Regions from separate parts of the Homo sapiens genome. Here all the other regions are linked to region 1. Evidence: promoter capture Hi-C in human tissues and cell types (Jung and others, 2019). All regions are on one chromosome and are shown on one strand. Each heading gives the region's core, a stretch centred on a gene start or on the middle of the fragment in contact. The rest is flanking DNA. Distances are from core to core; before and after follow the strand shown.

Region 1 (2,723 bases), core at 224-2,723:
GTAGCATACACAGCCACAGTGGATATCTTGATTTATCCCCAGACAGTACTGAAACCCAGAACCAGGGAAAAAACTGAAGGGTGGCTGAGGACACATTACCTTATAAAGTTTCCAAAGGGAAACCCTGACCCAAAAATATTCTGATAAGGTTTCTGTGGCTAGAGGCAATAAAAGGAAAGGAGGCACAGAACATTTTTTACAATACAGTGTCAGGGGATTATTCTTTGCTTTCTTCTCTTGGGAAATCTTTACAAACAGAAAACAAATCTTTTTTAAAATGCCAGCCAATGCTTTGTCAAAAAATGATTAATTAAAATATGGTACCTAAAATGTACACTAAAGTGTACATTAAAGGACAAATAGTTGATAATGTGAATTAGGGAGGGGAAATTGGCATTTGGGAATGTCAGAAGGAACTGGAAATTTAGTATTTTACTGCAAGCCAGAGTTAGGCTGGAGGAATGGGAAATGGGGAGAAGTCTTGAGACCCTGCTTGAGACAGAAGTGAAAAATGCAGAGGAAAATCAGTGCCCTGTGGAGTGTGAAAATAATTAAGTGGCAGGCAATTAGACTGAGGTGGCTCCAGTCCTAGGGTTGCTACTTGCAAAAAAATCTAACTCGAATGATTTTTTTCTAAAGTATTACATTGGGGGAAAATAAAATTCAGGCTTAACCAACTATAAACTGCCAATTAACCTCTCATTACATGACCAGGGAATTTCCACCTTGATCGTACAAATTAAGAAACTACATAACTTTACCTAACCAATTATTGAATTTGCTTTCCTTTATCATGCACTTTATAAAAGTGTTTTCTTCAAGCCCCTTCCATAAACCACAAACTACAAAACATAGCTTGGTGCTCTACAATTCTTGAATTACTCTTTAATTAAATTCTTTAATATTTCTGCGGAGACTTCCACAAATTTTTAATAGAAAAAAAGGGGGACTGGGAACCCCGCAGACCAAAGCTCTTCCCATTCATGAACTCTGCATCCTGAGTCAGTATTCTCCCCTGACGACCGTCCAGTGGTCCCTGCACAATCGGGGAGAGCTGCGGCAGTGGGGGCAGAGCTGCCCACAGAGGACTCCAGAACAAGGCACAGTCACTGCGCAGGGAGGAGACAGGATGCCCGGGGTCCGAGCTGTCAGCCCGGCCGCCATCCTATGGCTGAAGGGGACTGAGGGCCGAGCTGCGCCAAGGAGAACTCGGGGCCGCGGATTTTGGAGCCAGCTGCGGGGAGGCCAGAGTCCCGCCACAGCCACTTCCCACCAGTTCCAACCAGCCCCGCCCCCTCTCTCGGGATGTCGGACCCGGCACTCTCACCATTTCTAGGCTTCCAGTGGGTCCTGGCGTCTTAGCTGTGGATCTCCCAATACCTGCAGGTAACGAGGCCACAGAAGCTGGGCCTCTAGGAGCAGAAGACACAGAGCAGTGAAGACTACACCAGAAGCTCCGGCTGCCGCCAGAGACAAAGGCCCCACCAAACCCGGAAGCCGTCCTGTCTGCTCCAGCTGAGTGCCTGATTGGACGGGTCCCAGCCCAGCGTCCCTGATTGGATAATGTTTAGGGCCCCACCCTCTCAGGCCTTGATTGACAGAAGACGTGCTCAGATGCTGGGCTGAATGTAGAGTGAACCCTAAGCCTTTTCAGGCAGAGCTTCCTCCCTGAGCTGACCCAGGCCCTCCCCAGACGGCATTTGCCTTGTAAGGCAACCGTCTGAAATAAAATGTGAGCCATGTGTGAATTCTAAATTTTCTAGTAGTTAAGAAGAAAGAAGAAACAGGTGAAATTCATTCTAACCATTTAATAACCCAATATATCCAAAATATTATTTTAGTATAGGAGCAATATGTAATTATTAATGTAGTGTATATATTCTTGGAACTAAATCTTTAAATCTAACCCTGTATTTTACCTTTCTAGCACATCGCAGTTCAGACCAGCCATATTCCAGCTATCCTGTAGCCACACATGGCCAATAGCCACCACATTGAAGTGCAGCTCTGATTTCATACTTCCTCTCTCTCTCTCCTCAAACCTCCTGTGCTTCCTTCCCTCCCTCCCTTCTGCTAAGCTGATGCTCACTTCTCCAACGTTACTAGAAGCCCTCAGAGTGAATGTTCTTATCTTCCCACCATCCACCGACTGTGTCTCTGTTCCTTCCACTGTCACTGTGTAATAATTGCCCTTCTGCGGCTGGGCATGGTGGCTCATGCCTGTAATCCCAGCACTTTGGGAGGCTGAGGTGGGAGGACTGCTTGAAGCCAGGAGCTTGAGACCAGCCTGGGCAACATAGTGAGACTCCATCTCTACAAAAAAGTTTAAAAATTAGCCATGGGCTGGGTACGGTGGCTCACGCCTGTAATCTCAGCACTTTGGGAGGCTGAGGTGGGCGGATCACCTGAGGTCAGGAGTTCAAGACCAGCCTGGCCAACATGGTGAAACCCTGTCTCTATAAAAATACAAAAATTAGCTGGGCCTGGTGGCGTGCACCTGTAATTCCAGCTACTTGGGAGGCTGAGGCAGGAGGGTCACTTGAACCCAGGAGGTGGAGGTTGCAGTGAGCCAAGAACGCACCATTGCACTCCAGCCTGGGTGACAGAGCGAGACTGTGTCTCAAAAATAAAAATAAAAGTTAGCAAGGCGTGTTGGTGTGCACCTGTGGTCCCAGCTACTCAGGAGGCTGAGCTGGGAGGATAACTTGAGCTCACGAGTTCAA
Region 2 (2,723 bases), core at 103-2,602, 380 kb after region 1:
TTTTAAATTTTTTAAATTCTTTTGCCACATAATTCCAGTGCTATGTTAAAATGGAAGCATTGACATTGGCACAATATAGTTTTGCATTGGTGTCTGTAAATTTGAAGGAGCAAACAGCTCTTCAGGTTTTTATAAACTGGTTTTAGAAGGTAAAGATCTTTTGTTGGGTTCCCACGGTGATGGGATGCCCTCTGGGTTTGTAGTGGAGAGGGGTGTAGCTTGGTCACAAGGCTGCTGGGTCTACACTAGGGTCCACCTTTACTGGCTTATTACAAGGGGCTTGGGTATTTGTAATTTCCATTTTATTTTTAGACAGACTGAATATCCTCCAGGACTTTGCTCTGTCGGGCAGACACTAGGGCAGGTTTCTGTAGTCGGGTCTGCATATAATGGACCTTGTATCAGGATGTGGATGAGTGTGGCTTTCACTGAGTACCAGAGAGGATTTCCCCAGGCCACTGTGTAGGTTTCTGTGTAGATATAACTGGCCATAAACTGTGGCTCAGAGAGTTGGAACTGAGTCATTAAACTGCTTCAGAGACCACAGTAAAGGCCAAGGTCTGCAAGCCGGCCTGCCTGCATGGCTATAAATGGTTGTCTTCCTCCAGGCCGCTGGAAGGGCAGGACCTTTTCCAGACTGTGGCTGGGAGAAGTTTGGGATGGTTGCAGAGTAAGTTCAGAATTCTCAGTGGGACCAAGTTTGGTGGGCCATTTTCTGGTCTGTAGCCAAGAACAGGAGTCCTTTAGTTTGCCGCCTGAATGAGGGCCTGCCTTCTAAAAACAACACTCCTCAATCTTGGGTTTAGCATTTCACAACTCCCTCCCTGGATCTCAAAGCTCTCTTAAAGGCGCTTATTTTTGAGATGGGGTCTTGCTTCATAACCCATTCTGGTCTTGAAATCCTGGCCTGAAGCAATCTCCAACCTCAATGTATGATAAAGCTTTCATTACAGGTGTGAGCCATGATGCCTGGCTCTCTCAAAAGGCCTTTTTATGAGGGATGGCTGACAAATTTTCTTGCTGTTGGAGGATAACAAAATAAGGCAACTTTTATTGTCCTATCTTCCTGATGTCACTCTTCCTATACATTTTTACTTTCTATTTTCTATTTCAAATTTGTCTGTAACTTTAGAATCAGACCTTTGGGACAATATGCTAGAATTTACATGTTATGCCTGAAGTAAATTAGATAATTTACTCCATAATTACTAAAATAGTTACTTATAAATTTAAGTTTGCGGCAGGCAAAAAGGAATAGTATTTTCACCCACTTTTTAGCCTATATCTAAGTAATAACATAATGTATCCCCCAAATATTTGTTTTATCTATCAGAGGCACTAACCATATTCAGCAAAATAAAAATTTTTTCTTTATTTGGCAACGTAAGGCTATTCTTTGCTTCTATAGTTGGATTGCAGCAGTTTCATCTAGTGTAAGAATAGCATATATTTAAAACATAAAAATTATCTCAATTTTTAAAAATGCTTACTTATTAAGTTTTTTATTAGAATCTTCTATGTATGGTTATACTGCATTTTCTCTGAAATTTTACTGCCATACAGTGCATGCCAGTGATTCAAATACTTGCCTTCCATGAGTACACAGTTACACTCAAATATTGCAGTTATCTAGACAAATTCTTTTTAATGGTACATCAATATTGCAAACCAGGTTTTATGAGTAAACATTTCTTTTAATGTTTTACAGTTCCATATTAGTGTTTTTTGTTTAGTGTAGGTTTCTTATCAGTTTTTGTTTCTTGTTTTTACGGTTTTAGCAATTTGCACTTCTGTTTGTACACTTTAAGTGAATGTTGGGTTTAACTGGGAAATAAGTCAGCCATATGTCCATCATAGTCTGATTATATATGTGTGTGTTTTTATCTATTAATATGACTTTAATTTTGGTTATGGCATATCTTGTGTATATTCTTTCTTAGCTGATTTTCAATGGTTGTTTTGTCTAAGTGAGTAGTCATGGAAATAGTCTTTCTACCATGTGTTTAATGATAAATATTGTATAATTTCCTTTGGGTAAGAGAAACATTTTTGTAATTTGAAGGTAATTTTTGGAAATATTTGTAATTCTATTTTTTTTTTTTTTAGTTTTTCTTTTAAAAAATAATTGTTGTAAAAACACATAACCTAAAATTTACCATCTTAAATCTATTTAAGTTTACATTTCATTGCCAGGCATGGTGGTGGCTCACATCTGTAATCCTCAGATTTTGGGAGGCCAAGACAGGAGCATCACTTGAGCCCACATTTTTTTTTTTTTTTGAGATGGAGTTTTGCTTTTGTTGCCCAGGCTGGAGTACAATGGTGTCATCTCAGCTCACCGTAACCTCCGCCTCCTGAGTTCAAGTGATTCTCCTGCCTCAGCCTCCTGAGTAGATGGGATTACAGGCATGTGCTACCATGCCTGGCTAATTTTGTATTTTTAGTAGAGACAGGGTTTCTCCATGTTGGTCAGGCTGTTCTCCACCTCCCGACCTCAGGTGATCCACCCACCTCAGCCTCCCAAAAGTGCTGGGATTACAGGAGTGAGCCACCGTGCCCGGCCAGAGCCCAAATGTTTGAGGCCAGCTTGGACAGCATGTGGAGACCCTCTCTCTACAACTTTTCAAAAAAATAGCCTGACATGGTGGTTGTCACCTGTGGTCCCAGCTACTTGGGAGATTGAGGGGAGAGGATTACTTAAGCCTGGAAGTTTGAGGCTGCAG
Region 3 (2,723 bases), core at 134-2,633, 330 kb after region 1:
ACCACTTCACCCCAGCGTGGGCTAAAGAGTGAAACTCCGTCTCAAGAAAAAAAAAAATTACCCAGTCTCGGGTAGTATGTTTTTTGTTTGTTTGCTTTGTTTTTGAGATAGGGCCTTGCTCTGTCACCCTGGATGGAGGGCAGTGGCATGATCTTGGCTCACTGCAACCTCTGCCTCCCAGGTTCAAGTGATTCTCCTGCCTCAGTCTCCTGAGTAGCTGGGACTACAGGTGTATGCCGCCATGCCCATCTAATTTTTGTATTTTTAGTAGAGACAGGGTTTTGTCGTGTTGGCCAGGCTGGTCTCGAACTTCTGACCTCGGGTGATCCACCTGCCTGACCCTCCCAAAGTGCTGGGATTACAGGCATGAGCTACTGTGCCTGGCCTCAGGTAGTATCTTTATAGCAGTGTGAAAATGAACTAATACAGGAAATTGGTACTGCATAGAGTAGGGTACTGCTATAAGGATACTTGAAAATGTTGAGATGACTATGGAACTGGGTAGTGGGCAGAGGTTGTAGGAATTTGGAGAGCTCAGAAGAAGACAGGAAGATGTGGGACAGTTTGGAGCTTCCTAGAGACTTGTTGAATGATTTTGACCAAAATGCTGATAGTGATGTAAACAATGAAGTCCAGGCTGAGGTGGTCTCAGATGGAGATGAGGAACTTATTGGGACCTAGAGTAAAGATCACTCCTGCTATGTTTTAGCAAAGAGGCTGGTGGTATTTTGCCCCTGCCCTAGAGATGGTGTGAAACTTCGAACTTCAGAGAGATGATTTAGGATATCTGGTGGGAGACATTTCTAAGCATCAAAGCATTCAAGATGTGACCTGGGTTATTCTGAAAGCATTCAGTTTTATGCATTCACAAGGAGCTCATTTAAAATCGGAACTTCCCAGCACTTTGAGAGGCTGAGGCAGGCGGATCACCTGAGGTCAGGAGTTCGAGACCAGCCTGGCCAACTTGGCGAAACTCCGTCTCCACTAAAAATACAAAAATTGGCCTGGGCACAATGGCTCACGCCTGTAATCCCAGCACTTTGGGAGGCCAAGGCAAGCGGATCACAAGGTCAGGAGATTGAGATTATCCTGGCTAACACTGTGAAACCCCATCTCTACTAAAAATACAAAAAAAATTAGCTGGATGTGGTGGCGAGCGCCTGTAGTCCCAGCTACTCGGGAGGCTGAGGCAGGAGAATGGCGTGAACCCGGGAGGTGGAGCTTGCAGTGAGCTGAGATTGTGCCACTGCACCATCCAGCCTGGGCAGCAGTGCGAGACTCCGTCTCAAAAAAAAAAAAAAAAAAAAGAAAAACAAAAATTAGCTAAGCGTGGTGGTGGGCGCTTGTAGTCCCAGCTACTCAGGAGGCTGAGGCAGGAGAATTGCTTGAACCCAGGAGGTGGAGGTTGCAGTGAGCCGAGATGGCGGAAATGCCTAGCTGTCTAGGCAGAAGTTCACTGCAGAGGTGGACCCCTCATAGCAAACCTCTGCTAGGGCAGTGTGGAAGGGAAGTTTGGGGTTGGAGCCCTCATGCAGAGTCAGCACTGGAGTACTGCCTAGTGGAGCTGTGAAAAGAGGGTCACCATCCTCCAGACCCTAGAATGCTAGATCCACCAACAGCTTGCACCACGCACCTCAAAAAGCCAAAGACACTTAATGCCAGCCTGTGAAAGTAGCCAGGGGGCAAGGGCTGTACCCTGCGAAACCACAGGAGTGAAGCTCGCCAAGGCTGTGGGAGCCCATCTCTTCTTTCCTCAGTGTGACCTGGATGTGAGACACGAAGTCAAAGGAGATTATTTCAGTGCTTTAAGATTTAATGACTGCCCCACTGGATTTCAGACTTAAGTGTGGCCCGTAGCCCCTTTGTTTTAGCCAATTTCTCCCATTTGGAATGGGAGCATTTATCCAGTGCCTGTACCTCCATTGTATCTTGGAAGTAACTAACTGGCTTTTAATTTTACAGGCTGCTGGGCAGAAAAGACTTTCCTTTTCTCGAATGAGACTTTGGACTTGGACTTTTGGGTTAATGCTGGAATAAATTAAGACTTTGGGGAACTGTTGTGAAGGCATGATTTGTTTTAAAATGTCAAAGAGATATGAGATTTGGGAGAGGCCAGGAGTGGAAGGATATAGTTAGGCTTTGCATCCCCACTCATATCTCATCTTGAATTGTAATCCCCAGGTGTTTACGAAGAGACCTTGTGGGAAGTGATTTGATTATGGGGTGGTTTCCCCCATGCTGTTCCTGTGATAGTGAGTGAATGCTCATGAGACCTGATGGTCTTATAAGGCAGTTTTCCCTGTTCTTCCATGCTCTAGCTCACCTGCTGCTGTGTAAGACATGCCTACTTCTGCTTTCACCATGATTACAAGTTTCCTGAGACCTCCCCAGCCATGCAGAACCGTAAGTCAATTAAACCTCCTTTGTTTACAAATTACCCAGTCTTGGTTAGTATTTTTATAACATTGTGGGAATGGACTAATACTGTCTGTTTTGTTAAAAGACTAAGTTTCAATTGGGAGCCAAGATGACTGACTAGACACAGCCAGGGGAAACAACTGACAAGACACTGAGACATTGAAATTTCCATCCCATTCTGAGCCTATCTTCAGATGAAATGCATTGCAAGTGGGCAGAGGGAGGACACAGATGCTGGAAACCCTTCATGGTGTACCAAGTACTAGGAACTTAAGTCCACTTTTTCTGAGCCCTGCAAAACATCA
Region 4 (2,723 bases), core at 155-2,654, 300 kb before region 1:
ACATAAGATAATTCATACTGGAGAGAAACCTTACAAATGTAAAGAATGTGGCAAAGCTTTTAACCTATCCTCAACCCTTACTGCACATAAGAAAATTCATACTGGAGAGAAACCCTATAAATGTGAAGAATGTGGCAAAGCTTTTAACCAATCCTCAAACCTTACTACACATAAGAAAATTCATACTTCAGAGAAACCCTACAAATGTGAAGAATGTGGCAAATCCTTTAACCAGTTCTCATCTCTTAATATACATAAGATAATTCATACTGGAGAGAAACCCTACAAATGTGGAGATTATGGCAGAGCTTTCAACCTATCCTCAAATCTTACTACACATAAGAAAATTCATACTGGAGAGAAACCCTACAAATGTGAGTATGGCAAAACTTAATTGATCCTACAAGCTTACTACACATAGGAAAATTCATACTGGAGAGAAACTACAAATGTGAAGAATGTGTTAAAGCCTTTAACAAGTCTTCAACTTTTTCTGCACACACGAGGTATTTTATACTGGTGAGAAACCTTACAATGTAAAGAATGTGGCACAGCTTTTAACTAATCTTCAAACCTTACTGAAAGTTGAGAAAATTCGTACTGGAGAGAATCCTACAAATGTGAAAAATGTGGCAAATCCTTTAACTGATCCTCAACTTTTACTAAACATAAGGTAATTCATACTGGAGAAAAGCCATACAAATGAGAAGAATGTGGCAATGCCTTTAATCAGTCCTCACACCTTTCTACACATAAGATAATTTATACTGGAGAGGAACTCTATAGTTGTGAAGAATGTGGCAAAGCTTTTAACCAATCCTCATACCTTACTATACAGAAATTCATACTGGAGAGAAAGCCTACAATTGTGAAGAATGTGGCAAAGCTTTTAACCTTCCTTAACCCTTAACTGTAGATAAGAAAATTCATACTGGAAAGAAACCCTACAAATGTGAAGTCTGTGGCAAAGCTTTTAACTGATTCTCAACTCTTACTACATGTAAGAGTATTTATACTGGAAAGAAACCCTACAAATGTAAAAAACGTGGCAATGCCTTTAACTGGTCCTCACACCTTGCTACATATAAGACAGTTTATACTTTGAGAGAAACCCTGCAAATGTGAATAATGTGGCAATACTTTAAACCAATCCTCAAACCTCACTAAACATAAGATAATACTGAAAACTTTACAAACCTGAATGATGTGACAATAATTTTGACAACACCTCGAACTTTCTAACATAAATCATACTGGTGAAAAATCCTAGAAATGTGAAAAATATCACAAAGCCTTTAAATGGTTGTCACACTTGATTGTAGGTAAGAATCCATACTGAAGAAAACTCCTGGAAGTGTAAAAAATGTGGCAACACTTTTAATAAATGCTCACCCCTTATTGCACAGGAAAGCATTTATACTTCAGAAAGATTGTACAAATACAAGGAATGTGGAAAAGCCATTATTATCTGCTCAGATTTTACTCAACATTAGAGAGTTAGTACGTAATAAAAGCATTATAAATGCAATTTTTGTCAAGAGATCTTTCAGAAAATATAAGCCTTTAAAGTGAAGAAGAGGAGCCAGTTGTGCTGGCTCACATCTGTAATGCCAGCACTTTGGGAGGCCAAGGTGGGTGGATCACCTGAGGGCAGGAGTCTGAGACCAGCCTGGCCAACATAGCAAAACCCCATCTCTATTAAAAATTTTACAAAAATTAGCTGCGTGTGGTGGCAGGCCCCTGTAATCCCAGCTAATTGGGAGGCTGAAGCAGGAGAATTGCTCAAACCTGGGAGGCGAAGATTGCAGTGAGCTGAAATCACACCACTACACTCCAGCCAAAGCAACAAGAGCAAAAACTTCGTCTCAAAAACAAAACAAAAAAAGAGTATTCATTGTGAGGACAAACAATACAAATACGAAGAGGGTTGTAGTACCTTTACTTGTATCACAGATACTTTTGTACCCATTTTGCACTAGAGGAAAACCATGAAGCAGTTGCTCAAATGTTGTTCAACACCAGAAAATTTATATTGGAGAAAAGCACTGTAAATGTAATGCATTTGTGAAAACATTTTTTAAAAAACTACAGCTTAGAAAATACCAGAGGCCTCATACTAAAATATATTTTTGCAAGTGAAGTAAATATAAAAATAATTTAATCCAAAATTAAGTCTATATAAATATCAGAGAATTCACAGTAGAAATATCTAAGGTACTGACACTTCAGACATTGCTGAGTATAGAATCAGAATGCTGAGTATAGAAAATAATTTAAAACTAAAGTTGGTAGGTAAATAATGTGTATATAACTTTAAAAGAAGTAGAATTTTTTTGTAGATGTATAATTACATTCAAATTATATTTTTTCTTGAAAAATTAGTTTTTGAAAAGCAAATGATGTAATTCAACTCAAATTCATGCTCTTCATTCCTATTGTATTCACATGTGAAAGCATGTGATTAATTTTTCATGCATCAAAGATATGAGAAATCATTTCTGTTAGGTCGGTATTATTTATGACACTTTCTATGAAAGAATAAGGACATTAAAATGTAAGATGCATGATGAAAACCTGAGTGAAGAGGCTGTTTGTGTTTAACTTATAATATTGAGTGATCCATGAAGTAGGTTTTCAGAGCAATATTCTTCTGCATTATAGTAAGAGAAAACCATTTTTAATCTTAGTTAAAATTAAAGTGAATTAGTAGTATATCATTTTAC

Evidence for each region. The method cuts DNA at HindIII sites, captures the fragments that hold promoters and counts their contacts. A contact is called where the count stands out against the background at its distance.
Region 2: a fragment that was not itself captured here is called in contact with the fragment with the promoter of ERV3-1 in region 1 in 2 of the 25 tissues and cell types used here (heart right ventricle and mesendoderm cells).
Region 3: a fragment that was not itself captured here is called in contact with the fragment with the promoter of ERV3-1 in region 1 in 1 of the 25 tissues and cell types used here (lymphoblastoid cells).
Region 4: a contact is called between a fragment that was not itself captured here and the fragment with the promoter of ERV3-1 in region 1, in 2 of the 25 tissues and cell types used here (mesenchymal stem cells and mesendoderm cells).

Annotation. Positions count from the first base shown.
Region 1 is chr7:65,005,214-65,007,936 of GRCh38, forward strand. ERV3-1 (endogenous retrovirus group 3 member 1, envelope) reads right to left here and starts at 1,474. Exons shown (of 2, transcript NM_001007253.4): 1 at 1,328-1,474. It overlaps ERV3-1-ZNF117 (ERV3-1-ZNF117 readthrough), which reads right to left and starts at 1,533. Exons shown (of 4, transcript NM_001348050.2): 1 at 1,328-1,533. RefSeq lists an enhancer at 1,405-1,464 and a silencer at 1,565-1,734. The HindIII fragment of the contact is 15,538 bases long and covers 1-2,723 here.
Region 2 is chr7:65,390,274-65,392,996 of GRCh38, forward strand. The region is part of intron 3 of ZNF92 (zinc finger protein 92); the gene reads left to right. Among named protein-coding and RNA genes, the nearest start is that of ZNF92, 18 kb to the left of the region's middle. The HindIII fragment of the contact is 6,786 bases long and covers 1-2,723 here.
Region 3 is chr7:65,336,214-65,338,936 of GRCh38, forward strand. It overlaps LOC105375334 (a long non-coding RNA gene), which reads left to right. Exons shown (of 6, transcript XR_927613.3): 5 at 2,319-2,403. Among named protein-coding and RNA genes, the nearest start is that of ZNF92, 36 kb to the right of the region's middle. The HindIII fragment of the contact is 7,550 bases long and covers 1-2,723 here.
Region 4 is chr7:64,708,263-64,710,985 of GRCh38, forward strand. ZNF107 (zinc finger protein 107) reads left to right here. Exons shown (of 4, transcript NM_001282359.2): 4 at 1-2,723. The coding sequence ends at 394. Among named protein-coding and RNA genes, the nearest start is that of MIR6839, 31 kb to the left of the region's middle. The HindIII fragment of the contact is 5,049 bases long and covers 1-2,723 here.